Regions from separate parts of the Homo sapiens genome. Here all the other regions are linked to region 6. Evidence: promoter capture Hi-C in 16 types of primary human blood cells and fetal thymus (Javierre and others, 2016). All regions are on one chromosome and are shown on one strand. Each heading gives the region's core, a stretch centred on a gene start or on the middle of the fragment in contact. The rest is flanking DNA. Distances are from core to core; before and after follow the strand shown.

Region 1 (2,700 bases), core at 116-2,615, 6.0 Mb before region 6:
TGAAGTTCCCTGATGCTACATTTACCTGTGAAAATGGACATCATAAAATTTCTCACAGTATTTTAGTCAACATCAAATCAGAAATAGTGTTTATGAAAAAGCTTATAAATCAGAGCTATTTGATATGATAATGGTGTTGACTTTTGTAACCATTCATCTGGTTACATTTCTGTGTAAATTTAAGTTTGAGAGATTGAGGTAAATTCCCCATGTCGCAATTGAGATATACTTCTTAAAGTCCCTAGATTATACTGATTTGAAAAAGAAATTACCTCTTTCATCCCAGAACCTAACTAGGATTAGGTAGAGGGTTGGTGTTTAGTAAGCATTGATTACTTGATTGATAGACTAATTGAATTTATTTCTGAAAGTGTCTGGAATAAGCGTTGAAAACACATGACGTATTGAATTGTGTTGCCAGGCGTTAGAGAATGGATGAATGATGAAAATAAGATTTCCAAATTTGCTTTTTTGAAGGCTTAAAATAGCATTTAACTAAGTAATCAAGACTTCTATAAAATGGTCTTGTATTTTCATTCTTTTTCTGTTTCCCCATAGACATTTTCTACTTGATCTATTATTTTAATTTAGGATTCCCACCCCATTTCCTAGCCCCTGCCCGTAATTACAGCAGGCCTTCTGAAAATGACTTTATACATAGGTTTGTGTCCAGCAAGTACCCAAAAACTTATTCATTCATTCACTCATTCATTCAGTTTGAATTTATTGAGTGGCATCTTTGTGCCGGATGCCATGCTAGTGGTGAAAAGATAGGAGAAAAACACAGAGACTGTTTTGTCCTTTCGTGAAGTTGTGTTGTAGTGTTAATTAGTGTTGATAAAAGAATGTCTACTGTAGGCCAGTCATGGTGGCTTACGCCTGTAATCCCAGCACTTTGGGAGGCCGAGGAGGGTGGCTCTCGAGGTCAGGAGATGGAGACCATCCTGGCTAACACGGTAAAACTCCGTCTCTACTAAAAATACAAAAAAATTAGCTGGGTGTGGTGGTGGGAGCCTGTAGTCCCAGTTACTCGGGAGGCTGAGGCAGGAGAATGGCATGAACCTGGGAGGCGGAGCTTGCAGTGAGCTGAGATGGCGCCACTGCACTCCACCCTGGTGACAGAGCGAGACTCCATCTAATAAGAAAGAGAGAAAGAAAAAGAAAGAAAGAAAGAAAGAAAGAAAGAAAGAAAGAAAGAAAGAAAGAAAGAAAGAAAGAAAGAAAGAAAAGAAAGAAAGAAAGAAAGGAGGGAGGGAGGGAGGGAGGGAGGGAGGGAAGGAAGGAAGAAAGGAAGGAAGGAAAGAAGAATGTCTACTGTATACAAGGGACTATTCTAAATACTAGAGTTTCAGCAATAAATATATGCCATTTTATCAATCATTATAATAAAGCAATCCTTAATGGTAAGGGGGTACCCCTGTACTGCCTTGCTCCTCTTTTAGGATGCTAAGTTACAATTTGGCATTGTTACATCTTAGTTATAACTAAGTTACAACTTGGCACACCCATCAATTTAGGCAGTCATGAACTCTGGGAACGAAAGTGATCATATAAACATTTCCATAGTGTCTTAATAATCAAGCTGAACAGCTAAAGAGAGATGCATGTTTCATCCCTGGCCAGTTCAGAACACAATGCATCTGTAGTCCTGGAGACTCCACACACCTTCCATTTACACAGAAGAACCAGAGATGCCATGACTAGTCCACCTAAGAACAGTCCAGTTCTCCCAACATGAAGTTGAGCACCCAAGTCAATCTCCCCAGGAACATTGTATTGTCTGGCAAATTAGGAAAGATAAGAATTTCATCTGCAAAAAAAAAAGTATGAATAAGAAATTAGCTATGTCAATGTGACAATAAATATTCATTGGGTTAAGACATTAACTTTTTGTGGGAAACTGGTTCTTTAAAATTCTTTTTTAACATACAGGTTTTGCCTCCTGATTTACTTTTATCTGAGAGTTGAACTCTGCTGGGTTAAAAAAATCACCATTATATTTAAATAGCTATCTAAGGTTATTATAAAGGGAAGAAAACATTTTCATTAAACTGTACAATTGTGTTGGTAAGCCAGTGCTTTATGGAAATGTCATTGGTTTCTTCACTGATTTCTGTTGGAAAGAAAAAACATATCAAAGAATTTAGAATATGAAAGCATTGAGTTGTATTATTACCAAATTAATTTTATTTCGTATTTCATAAATTAGTTAACAATGTATTAATAGACTACATAGTGAAAACATCCATCCATTTTTAACTTCACAGAGAAAACTTCGAGTGGGGGAGGGGCATGGGTGAGAATTGTTTTATGACTTGTTGCAGTCTCAAATGTAAATATTCACCTCCCACGAATTTCTGTAATTGTGTTTACATATTGGGATCAATATCTTTACAATGTTTTAGGAGAACATATTAAATTTTTAAAATTATATAATTGCTTCAAAGGGAGCTGATGTACTTTCCAGCACCAAAACTGAGAAGATTTCTTAAAAATTCAGCATCTTGATGAGGCTGCTAAAATTGCACAGATATATGTAGTTCCACATTCAAATTGTAAGAATATGTTTAGGAAATAATGACATCATGATCCTTATATGCTTGGACTCAATAACGGCAAAGAAAGCTTGAAAAATATGATTCCACAGTAAAAGTTGACTTAATAGAATAGTGGTTGAAGAAAATTTTGTGGATAGAATAT
Region 2 (2,784 bases), core at 1-2,500, 6.0 Mb before region 6:
AATATTCAAAACACATACAGACGTTCTCTTTATTGTGTCGTGGAACTCTCCATCAAATTCAAGCACTCTGACAAAAGTGGGTAAGGAAGCACCAAATTATTTGAATGAAAATGTATTACTCTTGCCACCTCACTCTACCATACATATATGAATTCAGAGCATACCAAGAGGAGTAAATATACAAACTTCTAACAGATAGCTTCAACCAAATGAAAATACGTATACGCTAGGGACGTTTTTAAAGACCCACAGGTTTATGCTATCTTGATTAATCTTCGAAGGGGCTTTACTTTCCTTAGGTACCTTAAACTTCCTTCCTAAATTTAAGGACTGAGGAGGCATAGGCATTACAAAGTGGACGGTGCCAGAGGGGATTGAGGCAAGTCTTAAGGAAAGCAAATCAATTTTAGGAACAAGTATGTGTGGAAGTTGAGGACCTGGAAATTCATATCCTAAAACAACAACAACAACCACAACCACAACCACCACCACCACCACCACCACCACCACCACCACCACCACCATGAACTCCAAGGGGTAGGAGTAACTCTTTTGAAGACCACAACCATAGCCCAAAGTCAAGTCCTATATTAAAATCAGTAAAACACAATTTCTCTTTTTAGGTAAAAAACAAATAGAAAATATATTATATTCTACCCACACCGCAATGGATCAAACTACTGTTAACTCTGTTAACACAGCGTGTAGATCACTGACATCGATACTAAAGGTTTGGGCTCCTTTCTGAAAAGAAGGGGCTAGCCACCAGGACTCTACGATTATAACTTGCAACTCCCAAAGGTGATGCAGGATAAAAGTTATAACAAAGAGTAACTTCCCCCCGCCTGGGGGCGAGCGGGGGAGTCTAGAACAGATTGCCCTTCGTATAACAGTAAAGATTAGGAGTTATTTACCGTACACCTTAATTTATTCATAAGGAACTTAAAGAACAAGAAGTGGTCAGGAAATTCAAAAAGAGGATCTCTAGCAACACTGAGTGGGGGGCGGGGGAGGGAAGTACCACAAACGATTACTGGAACAAGAAGAGGGTGGCTTGTTCCTCCATTCCAGGAAATAAATTTCCAAACACACATTACTCCCTCGGCTCCACCAGGACGCTCCTCGAGGGTCCTCAACGACCAGAAAACCTGCGGCTCCAAGTCAGCCCAGGATCAATGCTCGCCCAGGCCCTGGCCCCCAACAGCCCCGGAATCCGGCGCCGCCGAGTACCAGGCGCGGACGCAGGGAGCAGGAGCCAAGGGCGGACCCGCACGTTGGCACCGCCCCCGGGGGCGCCACACCCCGCGAGGAAGAGGGACACGACCAAGCGGCTGGGACTCACCCCTCCTCCGTATCCCGGGTAGGCCATGACGAGCGGGACGAGCGGAGCGAGCGTCACCCTCGAGTCGCGTCCGCAGTGCTGGGAGAAAAAGCACAGGCGCAGGTGCAAGGAGGCGCAGCTGCAGGTGAGGCTGAAAGGCGCACTAACCGCACAGTTCACTCCTCCGAACCCGCCCCCTTCCGCAGGCCAGCCCCGCCCTGCACGGTTCCGATTGGCTGAGTCCCACACTTTGGAGCCAACTCAGCTGCAGTCCGCCCCTTCCCGCAGCCTAGCCCCACCCATCTCTGCCCTGATTGGCTACACCCCATCGGGAGCCCTCCAGTCCCTGCTCGACTCTTACTGGCTCCCTCAGGTTCTCGCGCGCTCTCCTTCTAAATCCCGAAGAAGCCTTGGCTGCTGCAACGGAATTCCCACTCTCTGTGGAAAGGTCTTCTACAAGCCTTCAACTCCTCAAGTTACTTTTCTTTCTAGAAACCCCAAACCGGCAAGTCTGTGACTTATTTTAACCAGCCCTCCACGCTTTTGAGCTGGACTTCAAAGACCCATCTGTGAATTTCAAAATTTTGCAGTTACATTTACTTTTGTGTAGTGTTGATGTCACATCAAAACTTTGCAACCAGGACCACACCTGTGGTCCAGGAGGAGTGCTTCTGCGCCAAAACCCACTTGAGGCCACATTGGACGAACAGGTTATTGATTCTGTTTGGTAGATAAATGGTGACCTGAATTGTGGCATGTTGGCAAATAAACAGGATATCTAGTTAAAGTTGATTTCCAAATAAACTTTTTTAGTGTAAGTATGTCCCAAATATTGCACAGGACGTGAACATACACTAAAAACTTATTTGCTGTTTATACACTGATAATATAGACGGTGTCCTGTATATAATCTGACTCAGCCTTTGGGCAAACTCTTGTTAAATGTTCAATTACTTTGGCTTATTAAGTAATAGCAATGGACAAGTCTGATTTATCTCTGGAACTCAAATGAATTTTGTAGCTCTGACTTTAAAAGGACAAGGCAGCTGTAGCTTTGGCTTATGAACAAATGAAAAAACCAAATGATATTATTTTGAGTTATCTCTGAAGAACAAGAGAAGGGCTAACATGTTTCTTAAAAATAAGGCTATCAAAAAAATGTTAACTATTCACAAAGGAAATCAGCCTTGCAGAGCTGAGTATCTGTTGTTCAGCTATGCTACAGAAGAGGATGTTGGACCTTGTGAAACAATTCTCAGAGGAAACAGCAGAGAGAAAGGAAGATTGCCGATGTCCTAGCTACTCTTGGGAAAGTGTCTGTAAGTTCCTTCAATGCTGTAAGAAATACTTAAGCCACTAAGGTTAAATTATTGGCATAAATAAATAGAGGGGAAGGGTAAAACCTACGTGGCAAAAGGGAAAAATGCATGGCTTATGAAGGTATCAAATGATAAAGCGCTAGA
Region 3 (2,813 bases), core at 49-2,548, 5.1 Mb after region 6:
CTAAAATTTCAAGGTAAAACTAAAGTAATTCTTTCTCAAGTTGCAGCAGAAGGAGTTTTTGTATTTTCTAACTGGTCTGATAAGCACAAAGAAGTCGTTTTTTTTACTTAGAAATGCCATTTTACAGGAGGCTGAGGTGGTGGGATCACTTGGGCCAGAGCTCAAGATCAGCCTGGGAAACAGTTAGATACCTGCCCCCAGCACCCAAATTAAAAGTACAAAAAATCTGGGTGCGGTCGTGAATTCCTGTAATCCCAGCTACTTGGGAGTGGAGGTGGAAGGACTGCTTGAGCTCAGGAGTTGGAGACTGGGCAACAGAGCAAGACTCATCTCAAAAAAAAAAAAAAAAAAGAGAAATGTCACCACTTTAAACTGGTTCCCATCAACCTTTTTGATACAAAGAAATTTTACTTTTGTTAAACTATTTTAGACCACTGTATCAGTTATTATATGTGACTAGGTAGCATGATAACCTATAATTTATGCCTTGAAATAATTTTGACTCATTTTCTTCCCACATCTGTATTTATGAGCCGGGGCAGCTGTGGGGTGGTTCTTTGTGTGGGATTAAGAGACACTGCAGTTCTTGAAATAAACCAGATGTTTGAATTTTCAAAGGAAAAGTTCACACCTAGTGAAGTATTTATTTACAAGCTCCACAACAAAACAAGAGATTATAAGAAAACTTTCAAGGGACATGGGTCACAGAAACCAACAGGAACACCACAGCTTTCCCAACTTCATGGCCCCGGGGGATGTTACAAAAGACACAGAAACGCCGATCTTGTGCTGACTGTAAACATTTGTCAACTAGTGTTACAATGACTAAGAAATTACAAAAGAGTTACAATCTGATGAAGAGCGATTCCTGCTTTGACTTTATTTGGTTTCTATCCACTTTTCCAACATACCTTATAAAATACATGCAAAAAACTGGTTTTAGAAAGCGTTCCCTAAAATTAGTGTGTACGGAAACTTCAGGTATACTTCTGCTTTCCTCCGCAAAACCACCCCTTTTTAAAAATCGAAAGTGAAATTAGTTTTTTTTTCTGTTAGTGACTAATCATTGGAGACAACCATGTTTAGTATTTGAGCATTGGTTAAATGCTAAAGAAAAATCGCCGTTAAAGCAGTTTTCTTTTTCACTGTCTTTTTCTTTTCGCGGGGAACCCAGCTGTTCCTGCGAGGGCCACCTCCTCAGGAAGACCCCGCAGCTCTCCCGCGGCGCTTCTGCAGGAGGCAGCGACAGTTTCGAGAACCCGGGCCTTCCCCTCCCAGTGCCTCCCGGGGTTCCGGCGTTTCAGGCGCTGCTGTTTTCCGGGAAGGGCAGGCGCGCTGGGCCTTGGGGAGCTGCGCTCGGCGGGCGGACGCGGGTGAGTGGGGAGTCCCTTCCCCGGCTGCCACTCCCGCCGCTGGCAGTCCCGGGCTGGAGAGCCGGGGGTGGAAAGGGAGGTGGGAGCCCTCAGCGCCGACGGAAGTGGGACAGCGCCGGAGTTGAGACCCTGCTCCCCGGGAGCTGCCCGCAGCCGAGTCGCGGAGGCCACGCCGCCTTCGAGGGGGCGCACCTGCTCCTGGGCCCGCTGTGCAGTCTCTGGGCCGTCAGGGCTTCGAGCCTTGTCACTTGTTTGCTTTGCTTCATTGAGGAAATTGAAACATAAAGTTATTTGTGTTTCCTCGCTGTTTTCTCTCTTTTTTTTTTTTTTTTTTTTTTTTGAGACGGAGTCTCGCTCTGTCGCTCAGGCTGGAGTGCAGTGGCGCGATCTCGGCTCACTGCAAGCTCCGCCTCCCGGGTTCACGCCATTCTCCAGCCTCAGCCTCCCGAGTAGAGTAGCTGGGACTACAGGCGCCCGCCACCACGCCTGGCTAATTTTTTTTTTTGTATTTTTAGTAGAGACGGGGTTTCACCGTGTTAACCAGGATGGATACGATCTCCTGACCTCGTGATCCGCACGCCTCGGCCTCCCAAAGTGCTGGGATTACAGGCGTGAGCCACCGCGCCCGGCCCTCGCTGTTTTCTCCGAGTGTCTCTGGAGATAGTCCTTAGGAAAACGGATTTCTTAAGAAAACGATTCTTGGTAGGGGCAGTGTTGTGCAGTCATGGCTGGCGTGTCAGAATAGGCAAGGTTTTTCTTGAAGGAGACATCCGAAGGAGAATACTGTGTTTCCAGTCTGTACAACAGGCAGACGTTCTATTGCCTTTCTTTTTGCTGCCACGCATGCATATAGGAAGATTCGATTCTACACGGCCTGGCACCGCAGTTATATGATTGTATTACGGAAATACGGTGATGTTGATTTGTATCAGTTTTTTTAATTCGCTGCCATAACAAATTACATGGCTTTAGTGGCTTAAACACATAGGAACGCGCGCGCGCGCGCACACACACACACACACACACACTCACATACACAATTTACTATCTTAGGATTCTGTAGCAGTCCTACTGAGGTCTCACTGGGTTAAAATCAAAGTGTTGGCAGGGTTGCCTTCCTTTCTGGAAGCTCTTGGGGTGAATCCTCTTTCCATCTTCCGGAGGCCACCTACCTTATTTGGCTCAGCAGCCCTTCCTCCATCTTCAGGGCCAGCAACATTGCGCCTCTGAAAGTTCTTCCGGGGTCACATTTCACTCTTGACTCTTCTTCTGTCTTCCGCTTTCACTTTTAAGTAGCCTCATGATTACACTGGGCTCCCACAGATAATCCAGGATGCTCTCCATATTTAAAAGCAAGCTGATTAGCAACCTTAATTCAATCTGCAGCCTTAATTCTCCTTTGCAATATAAACTAACATAATCACAGATTCTTGGGATTAA
Region 4 (2,719 bases), core at 56-2,555, 7.7 Mb after region 6:
CCATATGTAATCTGAATGTGGGGTCTGCATTCATTACAATCAACTGGAATCAGTTCTGTGGTTCCAGTGCCCTTTTCTGAGGCAGCTCTGCATCTTTGAGACATAGGGACAGAGACTACACTGAGAGGTGACCTGCCAAACATCTACTTCTACCTCTGCATTTGCCACCGTGGGAATAGCAGATGGTAAATAAAAATTTGTGACTGTGGCTCAGTTTCTTAGCAGCATCGCTCCTCTCAGACCTGGTTGGAATCACAGGGTGCCACCTTGTGTATAAGCTGACGATTTACTTCCCAGCTCCACAAAGGATCCAAATAGACTCCAAAATAATCAGCCTGAAAGCTCTGCATTTTGGTAACTAAAAAAAAAAGAAACAGATTTGAAAACACACAGCTCCAGAGGGTCCACAACACCCAATTTTGAATTGCACTGACAGCCTGTCTCATTTGTTGCCCCACCCGGACCGTAAAACACAACCAGTGCTCCACATTTGGAATAGATTGACGCTGCTCACTCAGGCTTTTGGATGGGGATAAGAGAAATAAGTAAAGCTCTTGTGATGAAGCTAACAAATCTGACTTGGACAGTTATGTGTGTCCAAACAGCAAGCAAGCTATGTAGATGTAATTTCAGGATTTTTTTTTTCTTTCTTTTTTTTTTTTTTTTTTTTGAGATGGAGTCTCTGTCACCCAGGCTGGAGTGCAGTGGTGCAATCTTGGCTCACTGCAACCTCTGCTTCCTGGGTTCAAGCAATTCTCCTGCCTCAGCCTCCTGAGTAGCTGAGATTACAGGCACATGCCACCACGCCTGGCTAATTTTTGTATTTTTAGTAGAGACAGGGTTTTGCCATGTTGGTCAGGCTGGTCTTGAACTCCTGACCTCATGATCTGCCTGCCTCAGCCTCCCAAAGTGCTGGGATTACAGGAGTGAGCCACCGTACCTGGCCTGGACTTTGGATTTTTGAGAGGCACTAGGTTCCATTGAGCTGATGAATATGAGCCTACTTGTTTTAATAAAATAAGTAAAATAATTATTTTTAAAAATAAGTACTTATTTTAATAAAATTGGATGATAGTGAGGTTTTAAAAATGACCGAGTTTGGAACAGAAATACAATTGTTGGAGCAAGGCCACGGGAGGTTAAAAAATAGGATCCTTTCCAATCCAGCTACCTTGCCCTTGAGAAATTCCACACTTGGAGGAAACCCACTCTAAATTCAGCACAGCTGTCATTCAGCTGAAGACACTATTACATTCATGGAACTAGCTGGATGATTCATATTATTTTCATAAGGGTGTTGGAGTGGAGATCCTGGGGCTTTGGGGGCTACAGATGCACACCCACTGTTGGTTTAGGGCTCCTGAAATGTATATTCTTCACAGTTTCTGTCTCCATTGGTGCATCCTGTTCTCCTGAGGCACCTCTGAAAGGTAACTTGGAAGGTTGTTTCAATCCCTGTGAAGGCAGTTCAGTCTCACTGACTTTGCTGGCCCATCTCAGACAACAAGCAGGCTCAGAGCACCAAGCTCACTGGGGTCCAAGTGTTAGCTAAGAGGAGTCCATTGTTAGGAAACTTGGGTTGCTCGTCTAAACATGGTTCCTCTCACCTATTTTTTTAAATCTCTACCACCAACAAAAGATTAAATGTTTATAACCACAGATTTGTGAATGGCGTATGCAGCTGGAATCCTGAATTGAAGAAAATCGGTGAATTGATTTATTAACAGCCATGCCTTACTGATCTGATCTTTTGTTGTCCCCTAGAACAAAATAACCTGTTTCCTAAGAAAAAGGTTCTGATAGTAGCATACTGAGAGCCCCTTAAATTCCACAGTGACTTGTTAGGAGGTAGAAAGGAAAGCCACTTTGTTTTCTCCAAATTAGAAGACAGATTTACTTGTCTTTCCTCAGCTATTAAAGGTGACTTTGGCAGGGAAAGAAACAGAGACCACTGAAATAAAACACACTAATTACTTAGAAATTTACTGACTCACCCATACCTCTCACCTTGTTTCAGAAAGGATTTCAAGTGGCTTTTAAGAGTTGCTAAAATATGCTAGGATAGCATTTGGGTTCTAAATTTCCTAGTAACACGAAATTAGGAAACTTTGTCAGCTTCACAGCTCACAATATCCATTAGATAAAATGACTGCTCAGGAGAGTTACAGTTGTTCCTGGTACTCATTGCAATGTCCAAGAGTCTTTATAAATAGAGCAACTAGGTGATATAACAGATATTTCAACAGTAATCTTACAATAGATACAAAAGGGGCATCTAAGGGCTGTTTCTTATAGTGACCCTCCATATACACTGACGGCATTATACGCAATCCAGCACAACCAATTCTGCAGAGGTTAGAATGGAGCTGGATGTCTGAAGCCATGAGCCCCACCCCATACAGATCTGGGAGTATGAATGGACCCTACGGCCCCCAGGCAATCCTGCCTGAAGATTCTTTTTCTCTCAACTGTCTCCTGATAAACTGTCCTGCTGAGAGCTCAAAATTGTGCACTATTACAATTGCCTGAAGTGCAGCTCTTCTAAATGCCCAATTAAGGGCAGGCCCACACGCCTTAAATGACCATGTTGTGGAGGATATTTTCTGGAAAGAAAGAAGCTTAACAAGAACCAGTGCCTGAATAGAAAGCTCTCCTCCCGCTCTTGCAATGAGCTAAGGGTGTATCCACTGGCAAAGCCAAGAGGTAGTCTGACCTTTGC
Region 5 (2,767 bases), core at 246-2,745, 6.8 Mb after region 6:
AATACATAAATAAATGCAGTACAGACAAATCTCCCATGCAGAAGAATTCCAAATAATTCATGAAGATATTCTGTCCTCATAAAGGTGGAGTATAACAATTTCCCATTCCTATAGTTTGGGCTGCACAGAGAGATGTCCTTCCAAATAGTATAGTATGGAGAGGAAAAGAAAAACAGTAACTTCACAGTGGAGAAACCTGACAAACCCTACATAGGGAGGTGGAAGGGCTTACTAGATGAAACAAAGGGGATCTTTGTAGAACTATAAAACTTTTCTGTATGACACTGTAATAATGGTGATAAAGGTTAGCATCAACAGTAATAAGTCATGTTGATAGTATATACCCTTGATGTGATGTGATGAGAAGATCACTTTACCTTACCTCTTAACTCAAGAAAAACCCATAACCTCAGTTAATGCATGAGAAAAATACAGGCAAAACCCAATTGAAGGACATTTGACCAAATGACCAATAAGTCGCTTCAAAACTATTAAGGTTATCAAAAACAAGGAAAGTTTGAGAAACGGTCACGGTCCAGAGGAGCCTGGAAGACATGGTGATGTACTCCGGACAGGATCCTGGAATGGAAAAGAATACCAGGTCGAAAACTAAGGACATCTGGAATAAAATATGGGCTTATGGGCTTTAATCAATTTTTAAAAAAGTATTAGATACATGAAAATGATACACGATTTACAAATCAATCGCCTAATATTTATCGAGCATATTGAGAGCCTGGCACTGTGGTAGGGCTGGGGACACAGAAAGAGGTAAGTGCCCTATGCTCAAAAACAGCGATTCATGAAAAATAAACAACTATGACAAAAAGAACAGAAGACTGTATCTCCTGGAGGCAGTAAGGAAGGCTTAAGTTGGGAGGACTATCAAACGCATCAAGGAGTTACTGAAGATTAACTGACCCGCCTAACGCAGGTCGGAAGCCCTCCTATCCATCCACCCAAATCACCCCTGCCCCACCTTTTCTCCTCCCTTGCGTTTACCCAATGGCAGGTCGGCTCCACGTAGGCCTACTTTGCGCGTGCGCATCATCGTTTCGACGCGCTCGGAAGCAACTTCCTTTGCCTGCTCACCGCCAGCGTAGGTGCTACCACCGCTGCCGTCGCCGCCGCCATTTTGATGGCAGGAAGAGTCCGGTTCTGGGACAGCTGGAGACAGTGGTGGTGACTGGTACGGATGGTTTCCGCCCATGTTAGCCCCTCCAAATTTGCCCGTGTTAGGGTTACAGCCCTCGGTATTGCCCGTATTTTCACTGGGTCCCTGTCGTTGTCCCCAGCCATCCTGTCCGTCTGTCTTTAGTCTCTTTTCTGCTTCCTCATCTTTCCGATCAGCCTGAAGCTTTGCTTGGAGCTGTTGTTACGCAGCCCCAACTTCTGTTAAAGCAGCCGCTTCGATCCTCTGGACTGAATTTTGGCCACCCAGCCCCCATTCCCCTCCCGGATCTGGTCCGAGTTGTTTTTCCGCGGCTGTAAACCGGAAGGGCTCTGAGCTGCACTGCCGGCTCCGGGCTGGGGGATCTGTGCCTGGCATGGGGGCGAGTTCTGGCCTCCTTAGGGTACGGGGAGAGCTTGGACTTTGGTCCTGACGTGGTGGACGACACACCTTCGAAGAGTGGACGTTACCTCAGTTGTCTGTTGTTAGAGTTTAATCGATCACTCGTCTGTTTTGTTGTGTTCTTTCCCAGAAATAACTTTACCAAAGGAAAGCTATTTTGCGAACTATCTTCTCCAGCGGAGATGGCCAATGTGAGTAAATTATCTCTTAAGAATCAGCATAGTAAACTCGTTTGGGAATGTTAGGAATGAAAGAACGGGTTTAATTATGATGGCATTGGGTGGTATAGTGTTAGATATAATGTATCAAAAATGTCAAGGGAAGCAAGTGGTGTGAAATTATGTTATGCTTTGAAGATGGTAGCATTCTTTGCACTGCAAATACACTTATTTATACAATTTCATTTGTACAGATGTGGAAATTCAAGCACCCTTTCGGTATTTTTTAAATACAGCGTTTCAGTAAATATTAGAATCTATGTTTAGGCCCTTTTTTAGCTTTTGGGTTAGCTAAACTGAAGGGTTTTTTTAATCTTTTTTTCTTTTTTTTAAAACAGTTTCCATATTGGAAGTGACCTTCTAAATCCTACAAAATAAGAATAGGAGATACTCTCACACACCAGAGATATTTATTGACTGTAACTTTGCAGTGATTAGACACATCCTATCTATAGAATTCATATGTAGCGGTCATAAGACATATATAAAAACAGCTACAATTAAAGTATAAAGTAATAATTTTTTTTAGAACCTACACGAAGGTGCAATGCAGATTCAAGTCTTTGTGGAGAGGAGTTTGGGATCACTTCATGAGGGAAACATTTAACTTGAGGTTTGAAAGATAGGTGGGATTTGTATAGTCTAAAATATGAGCGGGAAGGACAGGAAGGTATATTCAAAGAACTCCCCAACCCGCCTACCCCTTTGAAAAACTGAAAAGTGACTGCTGCCTGCCAACCTGAATGTAAGCTGCATGAAAGAGATAAGTGGGAGATAAGGTTGAATTGTGAGGTTGGTACCAAGTAAATGAGAGCCTTGAATGCCGAACTCAGTAATTTAGACTTCATTCTTTAAATTGTGATTATTCACTTAGAGCTGTGTGCTAGGAAGATTTATATGGCAGCATTTAGCCAGGATGCTATTTCTGTAATTGAACATGGTATATTAAGTCTAAAGTGTGACTATAGAGACAAGT
Region 6 (2,863 bases), core at 208-2,707:
CCCCAACACTAGTAACTCACTCTAACCATGCCAAGTCACTGCAACACCTTGCTTGCATCTGCAAATTTTTATCTATGTCTATATCAGAACCTCAGAAAACATGTTCATAGCTGAGACATTTTGCTCAAGACGAAATACAGTTTTATAGTCTATTAATTGTTGGTCCAAGAAAACAGATTACCTCCAGTTGTATGTGGGTACCTTAATGAGTAGGACAAGTGTCAGGGTGTGTGACAGAATTGCCTGAGTATGGAAGGTAGCAGTGAGAGTCTCCACAAAAATATTAATACTTTCCTATAGAGAAAGCCCCTTTTAAAGTGGGAGCCTTTATTAAAGTCCAGAGTTAAAAAGTAAGCTCTTTAACGTTGAGATTATAGACTTTTAGAAAGTTCATTTATGCCATGTTTCAGGCCTATGCTAAATTCTACGGCAAAAAGACCTGTAAATGCACCGGAGCTGACAGCCTGGGTCCTGGAACCCTTCCTCACGCTGCTACTACGGGGCACCCTTTCTATAATACAACCCCCCGAATGAAAACACTAATGCAAGCCTGGCCCCACAAAAACCTAGATAATGCTTACGTTGAAGACGACAGGTTTTTCGCTTTTGTTTTCGGTTGAGGACTTACTACCCCAAAAACACATCCGACCTGTACTAGAATAGGTGTGTGAGGGAGCGGGAAAAGCTCGGGTCATTTTAACTGGACTAGAAAGGAACACAGCGATCCCCTCACTAAACTTGTCGCCAAGTTCCCTCCTCGCCATCCCAGGGTGCGGGAAAAACCCCCTCCCGCCCCGGGGCCCCGGCAGCACTCGGGGACGCCAGCACGCCGGGCTCCTTCCCACCCGCGAACCGCGCTCCCCGCAGGGCGGGCCGGGGCGGGGAAAAAGGAGCTCGACGCGAAGGGCCGCGGGCGGCCTGGGAAGGGAGGAGGGAGACTTGGGAGGCTGCCGGGCGGTTTTATTGTTTCCTTTCGCCCTCCTCCTACCGCGCCTCCGCCCCAGCGTCACTGGAAAGCCGCCCGAGCCGCCCGGCGGCAGGTTATTTATAGCGCGGGCTGCGCGCGCGTCACGGAGCCCGGCCCGGCTGACGGGGCCGCTGACGCGCTTGGCCGCGGGGCCGAGTCCGCGGGGCTGCGCGCCGGACGCCGGCGACAATGGGCTTCTGTGTGCAGCTGCCGCAGCCGCCGGGGGCCGGGGGCCGGGGGCCGGGGGAGGGGGGCGGGCGACTCCCCGGCTCCCTTCTTGGTCGGCCGCGACCCCCCGAAAGGTAACAGGCCTCTTTCGCCCCCGGCCAGGACCTGGGCCCTGTGGGCTTTTTTTTTTTCCATTTTATCAGTAAGTTCCCCTTGTCCCAGCCTCCGCTTTCACTTCCCGCGTTCCCTCCACCCCAAAAACCGCCCCAACATGTCCAGAGAGGGGCATCTACCCAGCCGCCCAGCCAGGGGCGACCACTTTGTGAGCCCCGGGGAGCGGGACCCGTACCAGGCGCGCCCAGCGGGGGATGCGGTGACCGAGGGGCCGGGAGCGCCGGGCAGGTAACGTATCCTGGACCTAGAGTCGGGGGACTTTGTTTGGGGCGGGAGGAGCGGAACAGGGGTGGGTGTGAACGCCGGACGGCCCTTCCGGGACTCCTGTCCCCCCTCCTTCGCCCCACTCGCCTGCGCGCTGGAAGCCAATCTGGGTGTGTAGCGCGAAGAGCGAAAGAGAAACTTCTGCGTGACTGACTAGATGAGGCTCCTCCCGAGAAGCCGAGATAATAGAGGCCCCCTCTCCCGCCGCCCGCCTTTTTCTCCTCCCCCGGCCGCTCGCTCCTGTCGCCCCACCCCTCGAAGGCTGCGGACCAGCCCCCCACACTTCCCCCTACACCTCTGGCGGGTTCGCGCCGTGGACGCCCCCGCCCTGCGGGAGGAGGGGCTGGCGCGGATTTTAGGGACTTCCTGGGATGCGGAGATCGGCTCTGAACCATCCCCTTTCTGCTGCCCGGAGCTGGGGAAGCTCGCTGTGGAGCGTCTCGCACGTGGCAGGCAGGCAGAGAACTTGCTGCACCTTCTAGGAAATTGCAATCGATTTGTAATGCACTTTCGCTAATTGGGAGTTCAAAATTAAACTTTAATAAAGCATTCGTGTCGTCTCGTCTAATTGTGAAAGCTTCCATCCGTCCTGGTAGATAGACTCTAAGTCTCAAGTTAATGGCGCTAAGCTAGATTTTCCCCCCAAGTACAATTCCGTCAGCCGTCGTCGGCGCAGCTGGATTTCCGTAAGGTACAGATGTTGCTAATGACAGCTTAAGCACGGATGGGCAGATAGCATACGGAATGCAACATGTTGCCATATGGTTCCTTTAGCCTTTCACCTCCAGGGATATCAATCACATATATTCTGGGAGGAACTTAATGACTCTCTGAACAGCAAAATGAATTACCTGGTACAATTTATATCCCTTGACCTGATACGTTATAACAACAGGAAGATAGCATCTCGCAATTTCTGTGGTATAAATTGAACTACAGAGCTACATTTAAAATTCTACATCTATTTGTAGTTTAAGGGGCCCTGTCATATTCTGGCTGTAAAATCTGTTTCTGTATTGCCCATCTCCTTCCCCCTCCTACCTCTGGAGGAAGCAAAATTTATAAAGTTTAGCAAAACTGGTGTCGGAAATTGCCAGTCAACTGATTAATAGATGAAGTATGGAGAAATGGAAAATATGACTTCCAGAGCTACTTACTTCAACAAGAATTAGCCATCTTTAGGAACACCATACTTTTAAGCGTACAAAATTAAAGAACTCCAGAAAATGTATTTTCTGCTAGTTGTTTCAGTATAGCTCCTAAATCTATTCATTAACTATTTGAAATTCT

What was found. Contacts are between HindIII fragments. The CHiCAGO score rates a contact against its expected background, and 5 or more counts as called.
Region 1: a fragment that was not itself captured here is called in contact with the fragment with the promoter of FLJ46875 in region 6 in 2 of 17 cell types (non-activated CD4 T cells and total CD4 T cells); the score reaches 13.4 in non-activated CD4 T cells.
Region 2: a fragment that was not itself captured here is called in contact with the fragment with the promoter of FLJ46875 in region 6 in 1 of 17 cell types (total CD4 T cells); the score reaches 7.8 in total CD4 T cells.
Region 3: the fragment with the promoter of NMI here is called in contact with the fragment with the promoter of FLJ46875 in region 6 in 4 of 17 cell types (non-activated CD4 T cells, total CD8 T cells, total CD4 T cells and 1 more); the score reaches 13.7 in non-activated CD4 T cells.
Region 4: a contact is called between a fragment that was not itself captured here and the fragment with the promoter of FLJ46875 in region 6, in 1 of 17 cell types (non-activated CD4 T cells). The highest score is 6.8, in non-activated CD4 T cells.
Region 5: a contact is called between the fragment with the promoter of MMADHC-DT here and the fragment with the promoter of FLJ46875 in region 6, in 1 of 17 cell types (naive CD4 T cells). The highest score is 5.8, in naive CD4 T cells.

What each region holds. Positions count from the first base shown.
Region 1 is chr2:162,312,945-162,315,644 of GRCh38, reverse strand. All of the region lies in intron 1 of IFIH1 (interferon induced with helicase C domain 1), which reads left to right. Among named protein-coding and RNA genes, the nearest start is that of IFIH1, 4.4 kb to the left of the region's middle. The HindIII fragment of the contact is 2,524 bases long and covers 104-2,627 here.
Region 2 is chr2:162,342,834-162,345,617 of GRCh38, reverse strand. GCA (grancalcin) reads right to left here and starts at 1,486. Exons shown (of 8, transcript NM_012198.5): 1 at 1,343-1,486. The coding sequence starts at 1,369. RefSeq lists silencers at 1,180-1,259, 1,500-1,649 and enhancers at 1,678-1,847, 1,700-1,929. The HindIII fragment of the contact is 3,657 bases long and covers 1-2,784 here.
Region 3 is chr2:151,288,153-151,290,965 of GRCh38, reverse strand. It overlaps NMI (N-myc and STAT interactor), which reads left to right and starts at 1,298. Exons shown (of 8, transcript NM_004688.3): 1 at 1,298-1,373. RefSeq lists enhancers at 710-1,129, 1,190-1,269, 1,660-1,709, 1,730-1,779, 2,580-2,749 and a silencer at 1,330-1,529. The HindIII fragment of the contact is 4,870 bases long and covers 1-2,813 here.
Region 4 is chr2:148,638,515-148,641,233 of GRCh38, reverse strand. No RefSeq gene overlaps it. Among named protein-coding and RNA genes, the nearest start is that of EPC2, 4.9 kb to the left of the region's middle. The HindIII fragment of the contact is 2,630 bases long and covers 1-2,620 here.
Region 5 is chr2:149,586,086-149,588,852 of GRCh38, reverse strand. MMADHC-DT (MMADHC divergent transcript) reads right to left here and starts at 1,495. Exons shown (of 3, transcript NR_110240.1): 1 at 1,003-1,495. It overlaps MMADHC (metabolism of cobalamin associated D), which reads left to right and starts at 1,078. Exons shown (of 8, transcript NM_015702.3): 1 at 1,078-1,189; 2 at 1,704-1,764. The coding sequence starts at 1,756. RefSeq lists enhancers at 1,032-1,351, 668-1,867. The HindIII fragment of the contact is 5,571 bases long and covers 1,360-2,767 here.
Region 6 is chr2:156,340,714-156,343,576 of GRCh38, reverse strand. FLJ46875 (a long non-coding RNA gene) reads left to right here and starts at 1,457. Exons shown (of 1, transcript NR_147695.1): 1 at 1,457-2,863. RefSeq lists enhancers at 176-235, 1,443-1,996, 1,997-2,552 and silencers at 646-1,255, 1,796-1,895. The HindIII fragment of the contact is 3,407 bases long and covers 1-2,152 here.